3 separate regions of the Homo sapiens genome follow, and all the other regions are linked to region 2. The links are contacts of gene promoters, found by promoter capture Hi-C in human tissues and cell types (Jung and others, 2019). All regions are on one chromosome and are shown on one strand. Each heading gives the region's core, a stretch centred on a gene start or on the middle of the fragment in contact. The rest is flanking DNA. Distances are from core to core; before and after follow the strand shown. Region 1 has its middle 69 kb from the start of CHIC2. Region 2 holds the start of USP46 (ubiquitin specific peptidase 46). Region 3 has its middle 170 kb from the start of LNX1-AS2.

Region 1 (3,379 bases), core at 248-2,747, 1.3 Mb before region 2:
TCCCCCATTTAAGAGCTTGTCATTGTGCAGTTTGAAAATTTAGCTACTTAAAAAAAAACTTTAGATATATTTTTGATAAAACTATAAAATATACTTGAAAAATCACAAAGTTTTAAACACTTTTATAAGTGTACTTTTTGCTTTATTGAATGCCTGGAGCAGTTTCAGAAACTTACATAGTTTGGGAGTTCTCAAAGAAACAGCCATCAATGACGAATATAGCCTTTTGATGTTCCAGAGTACCGCACTCTGACAGTTGTCTTTCTTACACTGTCTTCTTCCACCACTATGGTGTCCCTATAATTATGCTTCAAATGTGCTGTCATTTTTGAATGCTACATTTTCACACATGAGTGGATAGACATGAACAGTGTTTTGGTTCTTTCCTTTGTTTCCCCTATTGAACTACTTTTTTTAGTAAGTCCATGTTAATTAAAATTCTAATGTTCTCATCAAAATTGCATTTTTGGAATAAATTTGTATCAGGATCAAATGACATTAAATCATTCAAAATCAATTAGAGAATGGTTTTAATTAATTGAACAGAAAGATGAAGTAAAGGAGCTGACATTGTTAAAACCTATTTACTGATAATTTAATAGTATGTTAAAATTTGTTTAAAGAGCTGGCTGCAGTGATTCACGCCTGTAATCCCTGCCCTTTGAGAGGCTGAGACAGAAGGATCGCTTGAGCCCACAAGACCAGCCTGGGCAACACAGTGAGACCCCATCTCTAAAAAAACTTTTAAAAATTAGCCAGGCATGGTGGTATGCGCCTGTAGTCCCAGCTACTTGGGAGGCTAAGGTGGGAGGATCCCTTGAGCCCAGGAGTTTGAGAGCAGCCTGGGCAACATAGGGAGAACCCATTTCTACAAATAAAAATAACATGTAAAAAAGCTGGGAATGATGGTGCATACCTGTGGTCCCAGCTGCCAGGATGGTTGAGGCTGCAGTGAGCCGTGGTCACGCCACTGTTCTCCAGCCTGGGCAGCAATGAGACCCAGTCCCCCTGCCAAAAAAAAAAAAAAATTATTTAGAGTATTTTGGGGTGATATATAAAATCATAACAGCTTAAAACGGAATACAACGAAAAAGACAATTTTTAAATAGTTAAAAGTGTTGGCGAGATAGAGGAAGTCAATCATAGTCTTGGAATAACATTTAGATTTCAGAATTTGAGTTTTTATGTTTGTTTTGACAAAATGGTTCTTTTGCTTTCTTCAACAAGAGGTTTAAGGCTTTGAACTTTTTGAAACTTTGATATAATTGTTGAAGTTTTTTAAACAAATCCTATAGAAATAGGAGACTGCTAATATGAAGAAGATAGAACATACTATTACAGCAAATTTATTTACTCACAAAAATTGCTTTTCCAAGGTAATCTTTTTCAAAAACTTACTGACATTTTAATGCCAAGTGTGTTTTCTTTGTCCCTAGTTTTAACAGTTTTAAAATACATGATTAACCTTTTTTCCTGAAACTGAAAGGAATCTGGACCAATTTTTTTAATCTATGCTTAAAAGCCACTCTTTTGATATGTTTTTCTTCATAGGACAGCCCATTATATTTAAATAGATAAATTGTCTCAGTTATTTCACACTAGCTGTATGACTTTATTTCTGTTATCCCCAGCAACTACATTTTTAGCTTTAAAGAATATTTTTATTGCTTTTGCATCAATTTCAAGTTTCAATATACAAAAGAGAGTAGTAACTAGTTCCTATGCTCTTCAGTCTGCTTCCCCAAGTAATCATTCTACTGTGAGGTGTTTTGTTTTTGGTATTGGCATTTTGGTATTAGGATTCATTATTACTAGTTATCAAGGAGACTCATTATTACACTGTGTCCCCTAATCATGTATAACCAGTGGCCTGGCAAAGCAGAAGACGACTTCCTCAAAAAAAAAAAAAAAAAAAAAAAAATCGTAGTTTACTTTAAGAGTTGACACTGCTGTAACCCAAAGACCTATTGAACTTACATTGCTGGTTGAGAAGCACACATCCAAAAAATCCAGTTATCTTCTGATCCACAATAAATTTTTGGAAAATAATCTGAAAACCAATTGTCCTCCATTATGACTAATGCACAATTTATTAAACTTAGATTTTTTGAGTGCAGTAACAGAACTAGAAATGTGTTGCTGTGTTACTCTGTTCTTGTACTGCTATAAAGAAGTACCTGAGACTGGGTAATTCATAAAGAAAAGAGGTTTAATTGACTCATAGTTCCACAGGCTGTACGGGAAGCATGACGGCTTCTGCTTGGCTTTTGGGGAGGCCTCAGGAAACTTATGGCAGAAGGCAAAGGGGAAGCAGGCACTTCCTACATGGCGAGAGCAGGAGGAAGAGAGAATGAAGGGGGAGGTACTACACATTTTTATAAACAACCAGATCTTGTGAGAACTCACTATTACCAGAATAGCAAGGGAAAAATCTGCCCCCATGATCCAGTCACCTCCCACAAAGCCCCTCTTCTAACATTGGGGATTACAGTTCAACACGAGATTTGTGGGGGAACACAGACCCAAACCATACCAATTACTAAAGAAATGGGAGACATTTGAATTTGGTGAAGAAATGGTCTAAGGTCTAAGCTTGGCCCAACCTCGGGCATCATGCCAAGTATAAAGGATAGCAAAGAGAATAATGCCTTTTGGTTTCTAAAGAGTTGAGGCTGGAGGAATAAGCATGTAACATGGTATGAAAAGTGCTAATAATCAAGGAAAGTAAGTGATAGGGTGGATCTTCAAAGGAGCAATATATTTGGGGTGGAAAGGTCATAGGTTGCATGGGTTGAAGCTTAACACATGAAAAGGCTGTGTTAAAAAAGTACTGATGATTTCTGTATGATTGGAAAATATGGGGAGATGGTCTGGTACAAAATACCTGTTTAATGAATTGTGCAGAAGCATCAAGAGATAAGGTCAGGAAAGGGAGAAGGGACAAGTGTATCATGCTGAAATTTTTTTGACTCTAGCCTGAAGCTATTGAAAGATTTTGAGAATGTGAGTGGACCTGGTCAAATCTGTCATTGATGAAGCTCATTCTGACCCTGAAATAAGCCAAAATTAGCAAGCTCCAATGTTAATTTGTTTTAACCTGTAAAGCTAGCAAGTAAAAATTCCTTAAATAAAGAACTCAACTGTTTCACTGTTTAGCAATGAGACCAAAGAGTATGTAAGATCGAAGGAATAGAGGTATAGAAAGACTGTTTTGCCCTTTGTTAAACTGAAAGACTAGCCTACTAACAATTCTAAATAATTATCTGGAACATTATCAGGGAATCTCACTGGGGTCAGACTGGAATCTAATTCTGGTTCTGCCACTCTCCAGCTGTGTGGCTTTGGAAATGTTACTTAACAGCTCTGTGCCTCCATTTCC
Region 2 (3,607 bases), core at 136-2,635:
CTCTTAAAAAACAGAGAGAGAGAGAAGAAAATCAGTCATGACTTACAATGGAAGAAATTATCATCAGGATGTATTTGGAAATAATATTTAGGTTGAAAGACTTAAGCAGGAATATTATTTCTCATGTCCACTGGAAAACACAGTGACATGACTCCCAAAACCTTCAGTCAACAAGTCTGTCTTACTGTTTCCTCCCCAGATTCTAGGGATATTAGCAATCAACGGCTCTCAAATCTTTACTCTTGGTTAGATAAAAGCTATCTTCAACTAATTTTTCTTCTGATTCAATTTGTCATTAAATACACTGATCTAAGAATTTATCACGCATCTCACTTGTACAATTTCTCCTTTGAAAGCATCGAATTGCAACCTTGTATGTGTAACTGTTCCACACATTCAGAAACGGGCCCCTTCAATTCGCGTGGACCTATCTGCTAAGTGGTGCACAGACTCGCGCTCTGAGCCCGCAGCCACGACCTTTAATGCGGGAAATGTGCATGATCCCATACAGCGCCCATCTCAACAACTAGAGGCTGGGTGCACCCGAGAGGGGTATGCCTGCCTTGAAGATATGGAAAAGTTTTGTTTTCGTTCTTTCCACTCCTTGGACAGTCCCTAGTGCTTGCGCGGAACCGGGACGTCTCCTTTGGACCCGCTAATGTCACAAGCCGCCCGAGCGCGCCGCTGCTGGCCTCCGCCCAGACCCGGATTCCTCCCCCTTCCCGGCGCCCTTTCTCGGGCGCCCGGCCCGCAGCTGGCGAGGGCTCTCTGACCGCTCCGGTGTCCTCGCCCCATTTTACTTCTTGGGTCCCCGCCGGTGCCATCTGGTTGGAACCCTCGGGAGGAACTAAAAGTTGGACGTCGCCACCCCTACCCCTCGCCAAAAAATAAACACCGGGGGCTGCCGAGGCCCGCCAGGAGGAAGGCGACGAGGAAAAAGCGAGGACGGAAGGCGGCCCCGGGTTCGCCCCGGCCTGGGCCGCCCGCTTCCCCACCCCGCGCACCGTACCGTCCCCGGCTCCCTGGCTCCCCGACGGCGAGGAGGGCCGCCGCTTCCGCGTCGGGGTCGGCCGGGGGACCTGCGAGGTGCGGCTGCCGCAGCGGCGCGCCCCGGAGCCTGGCCCGGCATTCCAGTCCGAATAGAAAGAGGCAGGGAATCAAATGGAAAAGCAGGAGGCCAGGCCTGGGCGGGCGAGCTGGGAAGGAGGCGGCGCGGCGGGGCCCGGGAACCCAGCCTGGAGCGCTCTGAGCGGCCGGCTCGGACTCACGCGGCGCGCCCGGGCCGCCCCTCCTCCCCGCGCCGCCGGCCGCGGCCCAGGCTCCCTCGCTCCGCCACTCCCCGCCCCTCCGCGCTCCCTCCCCGCCCTCCCCGCGCCGCCGCCTCCTCCTCCCGGCCTCCCTCTCCCAGCCAAACTGAAAGCCGGACCCCAGGCCGCCGCGCTGCCGCCCGGCCTCCCCGCCAGCGCGCCACCATGGGCAGTCCCGGTTTCCCCTTGTAAAGATGGCGGTGAGGGATCGCTGCAACCTTTAGACTAATGACTGTCCGAAACATCGCCTCCATCTGTAATATGGTGAGTGGCCGAGCCGCCTCGGGGTCGCGCCCGACTCGCGGCGAGGCAAAGAAAGGGAAGCCCGAGCTGCACACACGCCCGGTGGCTGGGGCGGCGGGGGCGGCGGGGTCCGCGCCGCCAGAAGTTCCCGGCCCCCGAGCTGGGCGCGCGGCCGCAGCCACCTCAGCGGCCGGGGAGGGTCCCCGAGCCCCCGGCGCCCGTCTCAGCCCCGGGACCTCGGAACCCGCCCGGCGATCCCGGGGCCGCGCTGCTGCGCCCCCCGCCCTCGGGTTGCGGTGGAAGCGGCTTGAGGGAAGGGAAGCGACCGAACCTGAACGTCCCCGGGGAGGGGGTGGGGGATAAGCTGGAGGTGGGGGGCACCCATCCTCTTCTTGCGGTCAAGACAGCCTTATTGGACGTCCAGACTGCCCTCATCTCATTTTGAGTTCAGTCCTTCCGAGGTGTTTAAAATTCACTTTGCAATAGCAATTGTGTATCTGGAGAAATCGGAAATGTAATAAAGCTGTAAAAAAAGTGCAAAATTGTGGCTGGAGAAGTGAACTTCAACCTGGTTTGAAAAAGCACCGTAATTTGCTCCGCATGCCTCAGTTTCCCCATCTGTGAAAAAGGGACAAGGCTCTGTGGCGGTAATATTTGCAGGCCCTAAGGGTGGGGCGGGCTGTGGGCTTGGAGGAGGTCTCCAGGGTTATCCTGCCTGATCCGCTGTAGACCTAGGGGAGGCTGGCGGGCATGGATACAGCCAGGGACATCACTGGGTTCTGATGCAGTCCGAGCCCATGATGCGGTGGTCACTTTAATTTGGGTTTCCCCCATTGCTTTCCCTTTTTCTGTAGGAAGAACCTCCAGCCCTTGGGTCCCCAGGCTGGACCCTGCTGGCGCCTCCACTTGTCAGAGCCTTTGGGGAGCTCAGATTGGAGTAAGGCATTGCTGTCCCTTGCAGGGTGAGATGATGTGTGTTTTGCCTACATTCTTTAGACTGCACCCCGCCTCCCCTCTAGCCCCCTCCCAAGCGGGTCCCCGGAGGCAACACGTGCTCTTACAGTGCCAGTTTGAGGAAAACCTCCCTTGAAGCTAGTAATACTGGCCCCTAAAGGGAATCCAAGGAAGCTTGATGGAGAAGCCCTGGTGTAAGGTGATCTGGCTGCCCTTCCCCCATCACATAGCTTTTTAAATCTTCTGTCCCACATTCTGTTGCAAGATCAACACATGGCAAAGGAGCATTAAGAAGCCTTGTGTTAGCTCAGGGGTGGAATTGAGACCCGCTGGCTTCAGCTTTCAGCACAATGGGACGTGCCACTGTCACGGCCAGCAAAGCAAATGCTGGGGCCTCCCAGAGTGATAGCTGCACAGGTACTGGTTGGTGCCGGGCGAGTTCCATACGGGGAGTGGATCCTAGAGCCTTTCTGTTTTCTCTTTTTTTCCTTTCTCTGCGAGGAGTCAGATTTCCTCTTATTCCTGTGGAGGGGCTGCTTGTGAAGAGGTGATGCCTTCTCAGTTTCTCTCCTACGACCAGTTCCTGAGGGAACTGTGAATCGGGAGCAGCTTGAATACTCTTTTATGTCTGTTGGTGTGGCCGCAGGCCTAAGGATACTACAGGGTAGTGAGGCTCCGACCCAGCCCTTGGTGGTGTTCTTGTCCTGCTTGTGTGTGGTTACACCTCTCTGTGTAGAAGCAGGCTGGAAACTTGAGAGCTAGCATGCCCCTAGAGGAAGCCAGCCCCCAACCTCCCCCCACGCGTCCCCCCACCCACCCTCAGTGCTGCGGGGGCTTTCTGGCACACCTGGGCTGAATGTCACAACGTGTTTCAGTGAAACTCAGTCAGGGAGACAGGGTGTGGGGAGGACCTGAGAGGAGCAGGCCAATACTGCCCTGAGAGTTGACATCTCAGGTGGAGACCTAAAAAGGTACCAAATTTAGGACCATCACCCAGATGAAGTGAGGAACCAGTAATTCATTAAGTAAGGAGTCTGATGTTGTATTTAGACGCCATGTCTAGAGAGTGACAGAGTTTGGGTTCTAATGTCAGACTTCCTGGG
Region 3 (3,436 bases), core at 216-2,715, 1.1 Mb before region 2:
AGTTTTCAGTGTACATATCTTTCACTTCCTTGATTAAACTTATTCCTAAGTATTTTATTTCATTATTTTTTGTAGCTATTTTAAGTGGGATTGTTCTCTTAAGTTCCTTTCTGGAAAGTTTGTTGTAAGTAAAGAGAAATGCTACAGATTTTTGTATGTTGATCTAGTATCTTGCAACTTTACTTAGATTATCATCTCTAACAGGTTTTTTTTGGTGGAATTTGTAGGGTTTTCTATATATAAGACCATAACATCAGCAGACAGCAACAGTTTTACTTCCTTTCCTATTAGGATGCCTTTTATTTCTTTTTCTTGTTTTGTTGGAGTTCCAATACTACATCGAATAGAAGTGTAGATTAGATATCCTTATCTTTCTCTGAGTCTTAGAGGAAAGAGTTTTGATTTTTTTATCATTGAGTATAATCTTAGCTATGGACTTATTATATATGGTCTTCATTATGCTGAAGTACATTCCTTCTATACCTAATTTGTTGAATATTTTTATCATGAAAGTTGAATTTTGTCAAATACTTTCATGGATCTAATGAGATGATCATATGGTTTTTCTCTTTTTGTTCCGTCAACGTGGTATATCACATTTATTGATTTGCAAACCATAAATCATTCTGCATTCCAGGGATAAATCCTACATGATCATGGTGAATGATCCTCTTAATGTATTGTTGAATTCAGTTTGCCAGTATTTTGTTGAGAATTTTTGCATCTCTTCATCAATGGTATTAACCTGTAGTTTTCCTGTCTTGGGAGGTCCTTGTCTGGCTTTGAAATCAGGGTAATGCTGGCTTCATAAAAAGAGCTTCATAGTGTTCCCTCCTTTTCAGTTTTTTGAAAAGTTTATAGCGAATTAGTATTAGTTCTTCTTTAAATGTTTGGTGGAATTCAGCAGTAAAACTCCCAGGTCAAGGGCTTTTCTTTGATGGGAAAGTTATTACTGATTTGATCTCACTTGTTATTAGTCTGTACAGATTTCCTATTTCTTCATGATTCAGTCTTGGTAGATTGCATGTGTCTAGGGATTTATCCTTTTTTTAGGTTATCCAATTTTTGGCATGTAATTATTCACAGCAGTCATTTATGATCCTTTGTATTTCTGTGGTGTCAGTTGTAATGTCTCTGCTTTCACTTGAAATTTTGTTTACTTGGAACTTTTCTCTTTTTTCTTGATTAGTCTAGCTTTTGTTAAGGTTTGTCAGTTTTGCTAATCTTTAAAAAAAACAACTCTTAGTTTCATTGTTCTTTTATATTGTTTTATGAGTCCCTGTTTCATTTATTTCTGCTCTGATTTTTATTATTTATTTCTTTTTGCTAACATTAGGCTTACTTTGTACTTCCTTTTCTATTTCCTTGAGGCATAGCACTAAGTTGTTTATCTGCAATCTTTCTTCTCTTTTGACGTAGGCATTTATTGCTTTAAATTTTTTTCTTAGAACTGCTTTTGCTAAACCCATAAGTTTTGGTATGTTGTGTTTCTATTTTCATTTGTCTCAAGATAATTTTAAATTTCCATTTTAATTTCTTTATTGACCTATTGGTTATTCAGGAGCATGTTGTTTAATTTCCATGTATTTGTGAATTTTCTAAAATTTCTTCTGCTATTGATTTCTAGTTTCATACCATTGTGGTCAAAAAAGTACTTGATATGACTTCAGTCTTCTTAAGTTTACTAAGACTTGTCTTGTGGCCTAACATATGATCTATTCTGGAGAATGTTTTATGTACTTGAGAAGAATGTGTATTCTGTTGATGTTAGATGGAATGCTCTATATATGTCTGTTAGATCCATTTGTTCTTGAATGCTGTTTAAGTCCGATGTTTACTTGTTTATTTTCTCTCTGCATGATTTGTCCATTACCAAAAGTGGTATATTGAAGTCCCCTACACTATTATTCTATTGCAGTCTATATCTCCTTCAGATTTTTAAATATTTGCTTTATATATTTAGGTGTGCCATTATTGCATGCATATATATATATATATATATATATATATTTTTTTTTTTTTTTTTGAGATGGGGGCTCACTCTGTCACCGAGAATGGAGTGCAGTGGCTTGATCTTGGCTCACTGCAACCTCTGCCTCTTGGGCTCAAGTGAATCTCTGAGTATCTGGGACCACACATGCGCCACCATACACGTGTTTGTATTTTTGGTAGAGGTGGGGTTTTGCCATGTTGCCAGGCTGGTCTCAAACTCCTGACCTCAGCTTAAGCGATTTGCCTACCTCGGCCTCCCAAAGTGCTGGGATTACAGGCATGAGCCACTGCACCCAGCCATCATGCATATATATTTGCAATCATTTTATCCTGTTGATGAATTGACCCCTTTACCATTATAAAATGTCCTTCTTGGTCTCGTTTTTACAGTTTTTGACTTAAAATCTATTTTGTTTAATTTAACTATTGCTATCCCTGCTCTTTTTTGGTTTCATTTATATAAAACATTTTTCTATTCCTTTACTTTCAGACAATGTGTGTCCTTAAAATTGAAGTGAGTCTCCTATAGGCAGCATAGAGTTGGGTTTTGTTTTTAAATCCCATTCATTCACTCTATGTCTTTTTTTAAAAAAAAATTAAGACAACATTCATGGCACATTTAATCAGGAATTCCAAATTAGTGCTACAAACACTAAAAGTATAATGTTTTATTAATATAAATATCACCCCTCACTGACATAAGCAAAAAAAAGCTCAATTATGTGGAAAGAAATGTTTACCCAAAGAGGTGCCTTCCGCTTATAAACACAGACTATATCACATAGCATATCAGTTCTCAAAAGGAAGTAATTCTAGATCTAAAGCTTCTTCTGTAAGTAACATCAGGTTTATGGACCTGTATGGAAGAAAAGTGGCTACAAAAAAAGGACATGACTATTTTTCTAATATCGTTGTCGCGTGCAAACATTAGCATAAGTTTTACACATTCTTCAAAATACACATACATGCATAGAAAAGTCACATTTGCCTTAGGCTTTCTAAGATTGTGCTACACTAAGTTATGGATAAAAGACTATGTGTTGCTTCACCTTTAAAATAAAAAGATTTTCAGTACAAAGAAGAAAATGACACACTGACTCTGCATCTGGATTCAGTGTAATAAGTAGTAATTGTATCTCATTACAGGCAGATTTCCTCCAACCATTTAAAAAGTTACTTCCTATCATAATTCAATTTTTTAATTCCAAACTTTAGAACTACATATAACCTCAGGATTTAGCTGAAATTGTACTATCTGATTATTTTGTAAATTAGCAAAGCTAAAAATTCTAGCTTGAATAATTTCTTCATAGTATAAGGGATAGTATTTTATAGTAATAAAATTATTCTTAAAGTCAATAGTTATCATTTATTGAACACTTTTTATGTGTGCTCTACAAACTCATTTACACCCACCTCAATCCTCAGAAATAGATACTATTGT

Evidence for each region. The method cuts DNA at HindIII sites, captures the fragments that hold promoters and counts their contacts. A contact is called where the count stands out against the background at its distance.
Region 1: a contact is called between a fragment that was not itself captured here and the fragment with the promoter of USP46 in region 2, in 1 of the 25 tissues and cell types used here (lymphoblastoid cells).
Region 3: a fragment that was not itself captured here is called in contact with the fragment with the promoter of USP46 in region 2 in 1 of the 25 tissues and cell types used here (heart left ventricle).

Annotation. Positions count from the first base shown.
Region 1 is chr4:53,993,473-53,996,851 of GRCh38, reverse strand. No RefSeq gene overlaps it. Among named protein-coding and RNA genes, the nearest start is that of CHIC2, 69 kb to the left of the region's middle. The HindIII fragment of the contact is 3,811 bases long and covers 1-3,379 here.
Region 2 is chr4:52,657,079-52,660,685 of GRCh38, reverse strand. It overlaps USP46 (ubiquitin specific peptidase 46), which reads left to right and starts at 1,385. Exons shown (of 9, transcript NM_022832.4): 1 at 1,385-1,571. The coding sequence starts at 1,536. USP46-DT (USP46 divergent transcript) reads right to left here and starts at 1,280. Exons shown (of 2, transcript NR_125363.1): 1 at 1,010-1,280. RefSeq lists silencers at 972-1,401, 1,412-1,931. The HindIII fragment of the contact is 4,724 bases long and covers 1-3,607 here.
Region 3 is chr4:53,756,964-53,760,399 of GRCh38, reverse strand. No RefSeq gene overlaps it. Among named protein-coding and RNA genes, the nearest start is that of LNX1-AS2, 170 kb to the right of the region's middle. The HindIII fragment of the contact is 4,901 bases long and covers 1-3,436 here.